Linked DNA regions of Homo sapiens: region 1 is linked to region 2. The links are contacts of gene promoters, found by promoter capture Hi-C in blood cells and fetal thymus (Javierre and others, 2016). All regions are on one chromosome and are shown on one strand. Each heading gives the region's core, a stretch centred on a gene start or on the middle of the fragment in contact. The rest is flanking DNA. Distances are from core to core; before and after follow the strand shown.

What was found. Contacts are between HindIII fragments. The CHiCAGO score rates a contact against its expected background, and 5 or more counts as called.
Region 1: a fragment that was not itself captured here is called in contact with the fragment with the promoter of MTURN in region 2 in 1 of 17 cell types (total CD8 T cells); the score reaches 5.3 in total CD8 T cells.

What each region holds. Positions count from the first base shown.
Region 1 is chr7:30,344,584-30,350,819 of GRCh38, reverse strand. All of the region lies in intron 2 of ZNRF2 (zinc and ring finger 2), which reads right to left. Among named protein-coding and RNA genes, the nearest start is that of LINC01176, 43 kb to the left of the region's middle. RefSeq lists a silencer at 2,373-2,667. The HindIII fragment of the contact is 3,111 bases long and covers 1,121-4,231 here.
Region 2 is chr7:30,129,780-30,136,350 of GRCh38, reverse strand. MTURN (maturin, neural progenitor differentiation regulator homolog) reads right to left here and starts at 1,365. Exons shown (of 3, transcript NM_152793.3): 1 at 1,053-1,365. The coding sequence starts at 1,214. LOC105375216 (a long non-coding RNA gene) reads left to right here and starts at 1,637. Exons shown (of 3, transcript XR_927146.3): 1 at 1,637-1,747; 2 at 2,896-3,034; 3 at 4,868-6,571. It also overlaps a transcript of PLEKHA8 not described here. RefSeq lists silencers at 238-417, 738-877, 1,070-1,447, 1,218-1,467. The HindIII fragment of the contact is 5,435 bases long and covers 1-2,725 here.

The DNA of each region.
Region 1 (6,236 bases), core at 1,427-3,926, 210 kb before region 2:
TTCTTGAACCCTCAATGATAGCAGTAGAAAACAAAAGCAGCTGAAATGTGAAATAATCCCTAGAAAAATCAAGAATTAAAAAAATTTACAACATTAGTGAAAAGCAATTACTCAAAGAACAAAAAGTTGGGGCTCACAAGTTTTAATAATAAATACTTTCAGATATTAAGTTATCTCTTATACGTATAAAAGAACGTAACATTAACTAATTCTTTCAATTACAGATCCATGAGCTATTACTGTACTCAAATATAAATAGGCTTAGAAATGATATTTAACAAAGGGAAGTTGCCATTTTCACTGTAAGATAAATATATCAGTAAAAATATGGGAATAACGTTTATTAATCTGGGCTTCTCTGCCTAGATGCCACTGAAAATTACTTTTTCAATGCCTCTCTAGTTTAAATGTAACTAAGAATTGATCGTTAAACATGTAGCTACTCTTCATCTGCACTGTTAGAAACTTAATGCAAAATTAAGACTATTCTTTAGGAGGAAATAAAATTTGTTACTCTTTTGATGATGACTTTTTAAAAAAAGTTTATACTCTTGGGAATATTCTGGAAATCGAAATTCGGTGAATTCGCCAAGAAAATGTAACTAAAATAAAATGGAACACAAATCACAAACTCTAAAAGCTACAATATACAAAAGGAGCACTAATTCCACACCTAGACATAGCTTTCTTGGGCCTTTTTGCTCCTAACTTACCTTAAAAAGCTAACTCAGGATTAAGTATTTTATAAGTATTGAGTATTTACCTAACAAGCCACAAGTAGTCACACAAGTTGTCTAGGAAATTATTAGATTACCAAGTTATTTCCCAACCATGAAATCAAACTAAGATAATTTTCCTATGCCCTCTCATTGTCACAAATCAACAATAAACTAAAACTTAAAATCAATTACACTGATTTGTTAAAACCTAAACAAATATTTTCCTAAATGAGTTGTCTACATGAACAAGAAAAAAAATGGAACTATTGAATACAGACCAAAATAGAATAAAGTATACTTTGAAGTAAAATTTCAGGTTCATTTCTATTCAATCACTAGGAGAGAAAAGCACCAGTCCTGAAAACACAACAAAGCTAATATCTTTATCTGATTTTCAAGCTTATTACTGTATACTTTTAAAATTAGACAAATGTTTAAATTTTAATGTATGTAGGCTCATAGTGGCAATAAAAGAGTCCAGCAATCTGGGTAATACGTAGCAATTTTTTTTTTTTTAATTTACAGTTTAGTTTCAAACTCCAACTCTTCCAATTTATTATGGAATATAACAGGATAACAGTACCTACCTCACAGGGTAGTGGTAGAAATAAATAATACCTCTCAAATGCCTAGTGAGATACCTGGAACAGAGCAGGTATGTTCTGAACACTAGCTACGTGATTATTCGCAAGAAGGGAGTCTGAGTTTGTTTTCTGCAATCTTAAGTGGTAATAATGATAAAACCTGCTTGACCTGTCTCTTAGGATCCTTGTGAAGATCTTAGGAGATAATGCAAATGAAGGCAGTCTCATGGAAAAAGAACAGGCTTGAGCTTTGGACAAGTCACAAACCTCTTTGAGCCTCATTTTCATAAAATAAATTGCAAGTGATAATACCTACATCTCACATGGTCTTTAATACGGATGATTAAAAATAAATCTAATGAATGTGAAAATGTGTAAAAGGCACTAAATGTTAGCTGATTGTAAACAAAATTTTACTACAGCAATATTGAAATAAGCTGGAAAATGCCAATTCACACAGCTATGACAACATACAACAATAAATATCAAATGTTACATCAGAACTATCATTACATTTATAAATCTGGATTCGATATCATTTTGTTAGAATGAATTTGAGGAGTAGTATTACAATGTGCATATCTACTACTGTTTTTGTTGAAAGTGAAGTATGTAAGTAAGGCTTTTTCTCTTCTGCTTCTTCTAGAGGCTATGAGATAATTAGCAGGCTGACTATAATCAGTATGCATGGGTCACAAACTCAGATGCCTAAAGATGCAGCTCATCTTAACTATTTTATAAGAAAAAAGAATAGTACAATTGTAACAATAAATGCCTGTTGAATTTGGTCTTGGTTTCAGGGATTTTTAGAGAATGGAAGCAAACCGGTACATGTAGTCCTATCAAAAAGGGGCAGCTGCTTTTACGAGTAGAATGCCATGGGAAAATAAAGGCCCAGGGTGGCCAGATGTATATTAAAGCAGGTGGAAATATAGGTATTCAGATGAATATTCTCATTTGTGAATGCTCAAAAAACATTTCTGATGCTGTGTAAGCAAAATAAAACATGGCTGTGAGTCAGATGTGGCCAATCCTTTGCCACCTCTGTATTAAAGAAACAGGGTAAATTCTATGAGGGCAGGGGACCTTGTAGATTTAGCTTATCCCAGCATGCAGCATAGTGTTTTGCACATTCTAAGTGCTCAATAAATATTTTTTGAACAACTAATGAAGCAACCGATCTCAGAAGACTAAGGAAAACACCAAGCAACAAGTGAAGAGCCAATGAACAGAGAAAATGCCCCAAAGCAATGGGTTGTTGTTGCCACTGACTTGAGCACTTTGACTGCTTGTGGTTTTGGTGACTCAGCTGAAGTCAGATCTTTTTTTTTTTTTTTTTTTTAACATTTTTAAGTGTATTGACTTCTTTATACAGGAAGTGCGTGTCAGCCACTCAACCAAAAAGTACTGAATATATAAATGTGCCAAGTTTACCAATAAATGCTTGCATGTTTATTAGTATATGTGGGTGAAGTATTAAAAGTATGTATGAACAGGAAAAATATTTAAAATGTCCATTCCTGAGATATTAAGGCAAAACATAAAATTCTAACATATTTAGAAAAATCAAGTATCTAAGAACCAGCAGCTCTGGCTAAATTAGAACTTATGCAACATGAACAACTGAGAAATCTTTCTTGATCCCCTTTACCTTGCTCCTAAACTACTAAAATAACTGTGACTAATTGCTGGATCCTGGAGAATATAAATCTAGATTCATCTGAAACCTCAGGTAATGTAACCAACCATGTGAAAATCAAGAAACAGCAAGTGTGAAGTTATTTTGTTTTATTTTATTTTTTTTGAGACAGAGTCTTGCTCTGTTACTTGGGCTGGAGTGCAGTGGTACAATCTCAGCTCACTGCAGCCTCTGCCTCCTGGGCTCAAGCGATTCTCCTGCCTCAGCCTCCAGAGTAGATGAGACTACAAGCATGTACCACCATGGATTTTTTTTTCTTTTTAATTGTTCTAAGGAAAGGGTGAAAAACACATTGATTTGGGAAAAGGTTTATTTCTTTTCACTGGACTTGGTCAATGTCCTCTAATCCTTAAACTGCCCAAGCAGTCAGCAGTACCTAAGTGAATCTAACAGAGCAGGGAGGAAGGCTGCTCTCACTGACACTGAAAGCACCAGAAAGAAGCCAGAGTTGGGATGAAAATGAAAACTCTCCCTGCTCCAAGGAACAATTTCCAAATTCAAACAAAAATTCTTCGTGTGACAGGCTACTGACCAACAGGCTCACAAAAGAGAAATAACTTTCATTCTATTTTTTTCTATTTGAGAAAAAAGATAACAGTATGACCGACATAGGTAATGAGAGATTCTGTAACTCGTAACATTATATAACTGAGAAAGATCATTAACTATGTAAGTATATGCAGGAATGGATGAGGGGGAATCACACCAAAAAATTTAAATAGGCACCTACTATAGGGACAGAATAAATGAGGGAAGACAGGAAGGAAGGAGGCAACAATGATGACAACTTTACCAGTAAAAATTCCTAGAATGAAAAAACCCGTAATTTTTCAATTTAATATTTCAGAGGCAGTGAAAAAGTCACTGAAAATAACAAATTAGTAGTCTAGAATAAATATCATGTAAGTAACTCCAAAGAAACCAAAAATCATTAATAAAACTGTAAGAAGACAAATCTAAAAACTCTAATATTAAAATTACAGAAGTCACAGGAAGAATAAAAGGAACAAACAAAAAACAATCAAAGAAATACTAGAAGAAAGTAATCCCTAGGCTAAATAAGACTTGATTTTAGACTGAAAGGGCTCATGAAGTCTCAAGCAGGATGAATTAGAGATAGGAATAGAGTGAAAAAACACTTAAATAGATGCAGGATTAATTAGAGATGGGAGTACGGTGAAAAAACAAAAAAATTCTGGCTTTCAAAAATAGAAATTATGTTGTAAGCTTCCAAATGGAAAGACTAGGTTATTAAAATTAAAAAAAAATAGTGAGACAAAGCCAGACTTCTTATCTACAATACTGCAAGTTAAAAAGTAGAATAACTTTGGCCAGGCACAGTGGCTCATGCCTATAATCCTAGCACTTTGGGAGACCGAGGCAGGCGGATCACCTGAGGAGTTGGAAAACAGCCTGGCCAACATGGTGAAATGCTGTCTCTACTAAAAATACAAAAATTAGCCAGGCGTGGTGGCAGGCACTTGTAATCCTAGCTACTCAGGAGGCTGAGGCAGGAGAATTGCTTGAACCTAGGAGGCAGACGTTGCAGTGAGCCAAGATCGTGCCACTGCATTGCAGCCTGGGCAACAAGAGCAAAATGCCACCACACGCACAAAAAAAAAAAAAAAAAAAAAAAAAAAAAAAAAATCAGACTTAACAGAAAAAAAAAAACACTGAAATTAAAAATCCTATATACACCCAAGATAGCATTCATATGTAAAGGCAAATGAAAAAATATTTTGGGCGTCTAATAGCTCAGAAACTATACTACCCATTAAGACTGTCCAACGAAAATTACTCATGGAAGAGCTCCTAACAAACAAAAATTATAGTAAGAATGAAGATCTCAGTAACAGAAAAATAAAGAGTGTAAACAACAGCAGAGAGCAAGAAAACATGTATAAGCGAAATTAAATCTAAATAGATAATGCTGTATCTGGAACTGTAACGCAACTATGGGTTTTTGAAACAAAAGCAATATTCTGCCAGTAAAAACTTAATGTGAAGTCTAAATTATCTCCTAATAACTAGGACTTGAAGAGAGAGGCAGTGGAGGGTGGGGGAAGTGAACAAGTGTATCAGGGGAAGAACTCAGAGACAATCCCTCATTCTGACAGAATAAAATAACCATGTTTAATGATATACACTAAAGTAAGGTAACCACTAAAAGAACAAAAAGGTGCATAATAGAAGTTCTAAATTAATCTGGAGGAAAGGAAAGCAACTTGATCCAGAAAAGGCTAGGAAGAACAAAGTAAATAATAAATAATTTAAAAAAAAAAGAGAAGGACCACCACCAAATTTACTAGTTAAAATACAAATGTGTAGGTTCTGAATGGTATAACAGAACACTATATATCCACTATCTAGCCTCAATAAATCAACATATTTACCATGAATACTAAAGAAAATAAGGAAGCAACTGTCCAAAAGCACATACAAGGATGAGATCACAAATGAGGATGAAACCTGAAGGGAAGGGGAAAAAAAAGCTATTACAAAAATGAAGGTAAAACTAGAAGAAGCACTAGAAGAAATCACAGGAACATCAAGGGGTAGAAATGAGAAAAATAAATAGAAAATGAAGAGTTAAGAATTAGAGGGAAAAAAATGTTCTCTACAGAGAACGAGAAAAGGAAATGCAGTAATGCCTATCTGTAGTCAAAAATAATATTCAAGAAAACATTACAGAAATAAAAGTAGATCTAGATCTACATATTGAAAGGGCACACCAAGTCCTAAAAACTGACCCAGAAAAAATCAACACAATTTCAACCCTAGTTGATACCGGTCATAAAAAAGAGTTCTTTGGGCATTCTGGCAAAAAGACTAAGTCAATTTTAAAAGGAGGACAAATCAGGTGGTTTCAGACTTCTCCACAGAAACACATTATTATACTTGTAAGACCAGAAGAATGCTTAAAATGTCCTCAAGTAGAGAAGGTATAACCCAAAGATTTCATACCCAGTTAAACTGTTATTCAAAAAACAAAAAGACACATAGATAAGCAGTCTGTGTTAAACATGCAAGAAATCTAGGTAATTATTTCCCATGAGCCCATGTGAAAGGATTTCTATGAGGATGAACTTCAGCTAGCCAAGAGACATCTGAAAAAACTAAAGCAAAAGGATTAGCAGTGGCAGCTGAATCTACGTAATGGTAAGATTAAAACAAAAGTGGGAACATTGATTAGATAATGTATAAAGTATCTACCTAGCAAAAATTAAAAGAGGT
Region 2 (6,571 bases), core at 116-2,615:
CACTTCATGAGCACCGTGCTCGCCCTACTCCACCCCTCCCACCCCGACTCCCCTGCCCTCCGCATCCCCTTCCTCAACTGCCAGAGTCGGGATCCCAGGTGGGTGCAGGATTCAAAGTGGAAGGTTTGGACACCGCAGTCCCAGTTCCCGGTCCCTCTGAGCCGGGGCTGAGGGGATTCCCCGTCATCTGGAAAAGCCAACGGGCTTCAGCAGGGCCAGGGCACCGCCTCGGCTGGAGAGAACCCGCCCGGGCCACACACACCTCTCGGGCAGCTCAGAGAGGCAGCGAGGGCAGCGCGGGGGCAGGGGGAGAGGCGTGCCGCGTGTGCGCGTGAGTGTGCGCGTGTGAGGGTGAGGGTGTGAGCATGTGTGTGTGTGTGTTGGGGTGTATGCGCAGGCGCGCGTGCGTATTAAGATCCGGGGTGTAATTCCGCAAAGAAGGTCCAGGAGATCGGGCATCGCTAGTATGGACAGAGCTTTGTGTCCAAACAGGCAGTGCAAGGACTAACCCGCGAGGGCGGGGAGTGGGGTTCTCCCGGGAGGGGCAATGCGAGGAGCCGAGGCTGGGCACCGGAGGGGAGCGGGATTCCTATCCCGGACGGGACGCCTGGATGTGGGAAGCTCCGGACCTGGGCTCCTGCCGGAGGGTCCGTGCGCCCCAGACCCGGCTGGTCCGACGCGGGTGACACCCACACCCCAGGGATGCTCCATGCCAGGCACCGCGCACGGGCCGCGAGGTCGGGTTCCCGAAACGGCGCCCGCAGCAGCGGGGAGAGGAGTGGCCTTTAGGGGGACGCCACACCTCCCGCCCCGACCCGGCTCCCCGGATCCTCCGGGCGCCTTGCCCGCCGCCCACCGGGCCCCACCCGGGCAGCGGAGCCCGCACCGCCCGGCCCGGGGCTTCCCCGGCGGAGCACGCGGGGCGCGGGGCGCGGGTTACGGCCCCCCACTCTGCGCCCACCGCCGCCCACCGCGCGGGAGCTCGGGCGCAGGGACGCACCGCCGCGTCCACACTCCCGCCGGCTCCGGCGGTCCCTCCTCCAGGCACTCACAAAATTGTCGCCGCAGCCGTTGTCCGGACACAGCACATAGAAGGAGACGCCGGGGTCGGCGTAGAAATCCATCCTGCGTTCGGTCTCCTCGGTGGCGATGAGCTCGAAGGGCGTGTTGGAGCACCATTTCTCCGCAACGTCGGCCAGCTGCTGGAAATCCATCGCGGCCCCGCGCCCGCCTCCCGCCGCCGCCCGCCCTCCCGCTCCTAGGCGCCCTCCTCCCGGGCGGGCAGCGCGGCGCTCGGCTCGGCCTGCGCGGGCTCCTCCGGGGCCGGGCTGGGCCGGCTGGGACTGTTTACATGCGGTGCGGAGTGGGGCGGGCGGCGGCCGGGGACAGCGCGGCGCCGCGCCCGCGGCTCCTCCTCCGCCCCGCCTCCCCCCGCCCCCTTGCGGGCCGCCGTGGGGGTTGGCGCGGCCGGGCCGGGACGCGGGGCGGCGGGAGGAGCGGCCGGCACCCCCGCGGGCGCCCGGATTTTCCTGGGCGCTCCCGCCCCCCCTTTATTTTTAAACAAACCCGGAGCATCCCGGGGCCCTGGCCATCGCGGTGCCGCCCCGGGCCGTGACGTCATGGGCCCCAGCCAATCACCGGAGCCTGAGACCGCGCCGCGGCTTGCGAGCCCGGTGACGTCACAGCGCGAGCCTGGAATCCGCAGCTCCGCGGGTTACCTGGAAGCGGTGCGAGCGCCCAATACCTGGTTAGCGTTTCTGTGGAGTTAGAAAGCCCAGGAAGCGTTTGCCCAAATGCGATTTAAATGCAAGGGAGGCCATAGAACTGCAGATAACTTGGACCTTGTCTGGGGCTAGCAGTGGAGGAGCTGAGAAAATCTAAGGAAAAGGGAGCTTTTCTTTTTGCAGAAACCAAAGTTCTGTTCTCCGATTGATTTAAGGGAATGTGTCTTCTTAATGCATTTATCAGACACTAATATGAATGTTCACTTGCAAAGGGCGTGTGTGATTTTTTATTTGCGTTACGTAAAGCTGAATATTTCTTAGAAATGAGCCTCATAAGACTGGCTTCAGTATTATTCAGCTTGAATTCACATTGCATAACCTAAAAAGGTCAAGAGGATAAAGCACATTTTAAAACAAGAGTGTGTGGCCCAACGATTGCACCTGTTGAGTGCTCACTGGCTGCCATATACTGGACAGGCATTACTGGATTGCAGAAAATGCACTAGGGTCCTCGCCCTCAGGACTTGAACACTACAAACACAGACACGTTATAAACATTCAGCCAGCTTTTTTCTGTAAAGTGTGTCTTCTGAACCAGGCACTGTGCACGAATTTACATTCCCACCAACACGTATATATGTTTCCTTTTCTCTGCACCCTCACCAACATCTGCTGTTTTTTGACTTTTTAATCATAGCCATTTTGACTGGTGTGAGATTGTATCTCATTGTGGTTTTAATGTGCATTTCTCTGATAATTAGTGGATGTTGAGCATTTTTTCATATGTTCGTTGGCCACTTGTATGTCTTTTTTGAGAAATATCTGTTCATGTCCTTTGCCCACTTTTTAATGGGTTTTTTTTTTTTCTTGTTGAGTTGTTTGAGTTCCTTGTAGATTCTGGATATTAGTCCTTTGTCAGATGCGTAGTTTGCAAATATTTTCTCTCATTCTGTAGGTTGTCTATTTACTCTGTTGATTGTTTCTTTTACTGTGCAGAAGCTTTTTAGTTTAATTAAGGCCCATTTGTCTATTCTTGTTTTTGTTGCACTTCCTTTGGGGTTTTAGTCATAAATTATTTGCCTAGGCCAATGTTGCAAGGAACTGAATTCTGCCAACAACCCGAATGAGCTTGAAAAGCAGATTTTTTTCTCAAACTTGTTGTCTTTTCCAGACAAGAACTGAGCCTGACTATTACCATGATTGCAGCCTTCGCAGAACCTGAGCGAGAACCCAGTGATGCCATGGCTGTGCTGGGACTTCCGACTTTCAGAACTGTGGGCTATTAAATGGGTGTTGTTTTAAGCTGTTAGGTCTGTTTAAATTCTTCATGCAGCAGTAGAAAACTAATACACAGGACAATGAAGGAGACAGGCACATGAATATAAAAATGCAATATGCTGTTGTAAAGTTACAAAATGGTCCTTAAAAAAAAAAAGTATGGGTGTCTCCAGATAGCACAAGCTTCCTTGCAGTTTTACCTGGCACCACCATTTAAAGCATAATATGTGTTCCAAAAATGAATTCCTTAAATTGGAGATGAAAATATGAAAAATACATTCCTTTTTTCCTTTTTCGGGAAAGAAGGAGTTTTTTTTTTAATCCATGTGTTTTAAAATGTATCAGTCAAATTTGCTCCAAGTGATGTGATCAGAATTATGAAGTTATGTTTATTTAACAAATAGTTTTTGTCAGAAAATGAAAAACTCTTATGAAAAATAAAATTTTGGGTACAAAGCAATTGGTCAATGAAATGGATACCGTTGGGTTTCCTTAGAAATGCACTGAGAGCAACAGCAAAAGCTTCAGAACTCCATGTCTGCATTGATTCCTCCCTCTGCCATTTTAAGTTTTATGTGCATCTGCAACTTCCTTCATTGCTCGGAGCTCAGTTTTCTTTTCTGAAAACAGGGACAACAGTGAGATAAAGTATATAAAGTCCTTATCCCAGAACCTAGCACATAGTAAGAACTCAGTAAATGCCATTATTACTCTTAATCTACTTCTTAGGGATGATGTGTAAGAAGATCAGCTAATGAATTTTTAAAGTGAAATTCAGGAGTGATATGACTGGTAATATTGGTCACAGATGAACCTAAATCTCATTTTTTTTTCCAAGTCTTTAGAGCAGGGTTTCTCAGCAGCAGCACTATTGATATTTGAAGCCAAAAATTCTTTGTTGTTGGAGGCTGTCCTGCACATTGCAGGATTTTTAGCCACATTCCCTGGCCTCCACCCACTGGATGCCTGTAGCATCTCCCTCTACCCTCCCCTCTCTCCACTGTGACAAGCAAAAATTTCTCCAGACATTGCCAAATGTCCCCTGAGTGCAAAATTACCCCTACTTGAGAACCACAGATTTAGAGAGAAAAGTCTTGCAACAGTCGTGTTTTGGTCATTTTTACTAACTAGTGGAAAGGGTATGCACATAAAGCAGCTGAAATTCATCCTGGAAAGTTCATCTGCAGAAGTTGCTTGAAATTTTGTTTCCTTAGAACAACTGGTAAAGCCACCAGTTGCTTAGCTAAGAAGATCATAAACCTTTGCCCTGCCTCCCTCCTGTTTGGGGAGAGTCCTGTGAGGCATCCCAGGTTGTAGGGGTGTATTTAGGCCTCATGCACAGGGCAGTGGTCATTTCAGAACTCTAGCCAGGTGTTTTGTGCAGCCAGTAGGTGAGGAAACACCAGGGCTACCCATACCCCCTTTCTTGTGTTCCCATAGCCTTTGGCCATGGTTTGGAAGTAGAAGGAAAATTAAAACTTCTCCCCAGCCAGGCGTGGTGGCTCACACCTGTAATCCCACCACTTTGGGAGGCCAAGGTGGGTGGATCACCGAGCCCAGGAGTTTGAGACCAGCCTGGGCAACATGGTGAAAACCTGTCTCTACTAAAAATACAAAAATTAGCTGGGCATGGTGGCATGTGCCTGTAGTCCCAGCTACTTGGGAGGCTGAGGTGGGAGAATCCCTTGAGCCCTCGAAGTCGAGGCTGCAGTGAGCCATGATCACACCACTGCCCTCCAGCCTAGGTGACAGAGGGAAACCCTATCTCAAAAAACAAAACAAACAGACAAAAAAACTTATCCCCACCAGTAGGCAGAGTTGTACAGTCTTCATTGTATTTAAGGAACGTTTCTGTTCATTTATAGAAATCTGGACTTTGCTGTCTCTGAAAATCACCATTTGCCTTTGGGAGATGTGTGTTGGCAAGAAGAGGAGACATATTCAAACCCCACTGGCTAGGACATCAGGAGCTCAGTATGGAATGCAAAGGCCACCCTAGACTGTCCTGCTAATGCTGACTCTTCTGCCCATCTCTGTTTTGAAGTTCTCCATGGCTTTTATTCTAGTGTAAGTTTGATGTTAACATATAATTTGACCTTTGATTCACTCCTATATTGTAAGTCCGTTAAATTAGCCCTAGTTTTTGATAAATCTGCTCCATCCACATAGCCTTGTGGTTATGCAGTAGGAGGAGGTAGGCAGAGAGGGAAGCGTAGCTGGTTCCACATTCACCCTTCACCTGAACGCAAGGTCGTCTCATTGTATCAAGAGGGACTGTAGACCCCAGGTTCCAGGAGACGGTGGTCAGGAGAGAGGTGTTTGATTTGTCACAGTTGTGATGGGAGAGGTGAAAAGACCATAGGATCTGGAGAAGTAACTCCCAGGAGAGCAACACAGGAGGGATGAGAGCTGTCTTCTCCCTGCACTGTGCTCCAGAACAGTGAGCCCAGCAGTGGGGCGGGGAGGATAAGTAGAGGGCAGACATGAGTTAAGCCTGCGCCATAGTTTATGTGTCACTGCAACTAGAGTCTGAAAGAAAATCAAGTTGGAAGATCAGCGAAAAGTTGAAGATCTATATAAATGAGTCATTGTGATTTACCCCAACTGCCCAGTAAAGCTCTGGAAAAGGATTTCCTTCAGCCTTCCTACAAAATTCATTCTGAATTTTGTTTCTGAATCTTCCAAACTTAGTTTTTACAAAATTATTTCTTTTTTGGACATTCCTCTGAAAGGTTTGGATGTAGAATTTGAGCGAGTTGGGGTTACATTTTGGCTACAATTGCCTTCAAAACATGCCTAGCTGATCACATTCACCTGGTAAACATTTTCCTTTTATATATATCAAAGAAACAGAAATACTTATGATTTAGTTTTTAGCTTCTTTATTCATTTGAACACTTCAATATTCTGTCTTCTTCAATGATTCCCCCTTGCCCGTATTTTCAGCTGGAACAGTTTCTCATTTTCCCTATTTCTGAACACTTTCAGGGGCTTCCTTCAGTGAAGCCCAACACACAAAACGTCCCTTTCAGCAAAATCTCAGCGGTGGTGCTAAGGGACTAACACAGACTTTAAGGTCACAAAACCATTGTTTTAACATTTTTCTCTGTTTCTTTTCTGATAATGATGACAGTTCTGTCTCTATTATATTTGCTGAAACTTACTAGGACCCAGTGATACTAGCTCATCCTCTAGAGAGAGGTCCCAAGAGCATTACACCAGATCTCCTACGAAGATGTGGGATTTCCTCTAGGAAAAGGTGTGTATCCAGGTAATTTACTAAGCCAGAAGCTGCTGTGATTCTATGGCAGCCTTATCTCTTATGACACGTCCATTTACTAAGATTTGGTGATCTGGATGATGGCACAGAGTGCTGTACTAAAGCCTGCCCCAGATGGTGGGTGTGCATGTCATCAGCTATGATAATGGGAAACTGGCTGATGGAAAGAGCACAGCTCCGATATGTGACACAATGGAAACATTTGGGCATTAGAAAGACTTCAAATTATGACTTCGCCACTAATTAATTGTGTGATCTTGGATAAGTTACTTAACCCCTGCAAACCCCA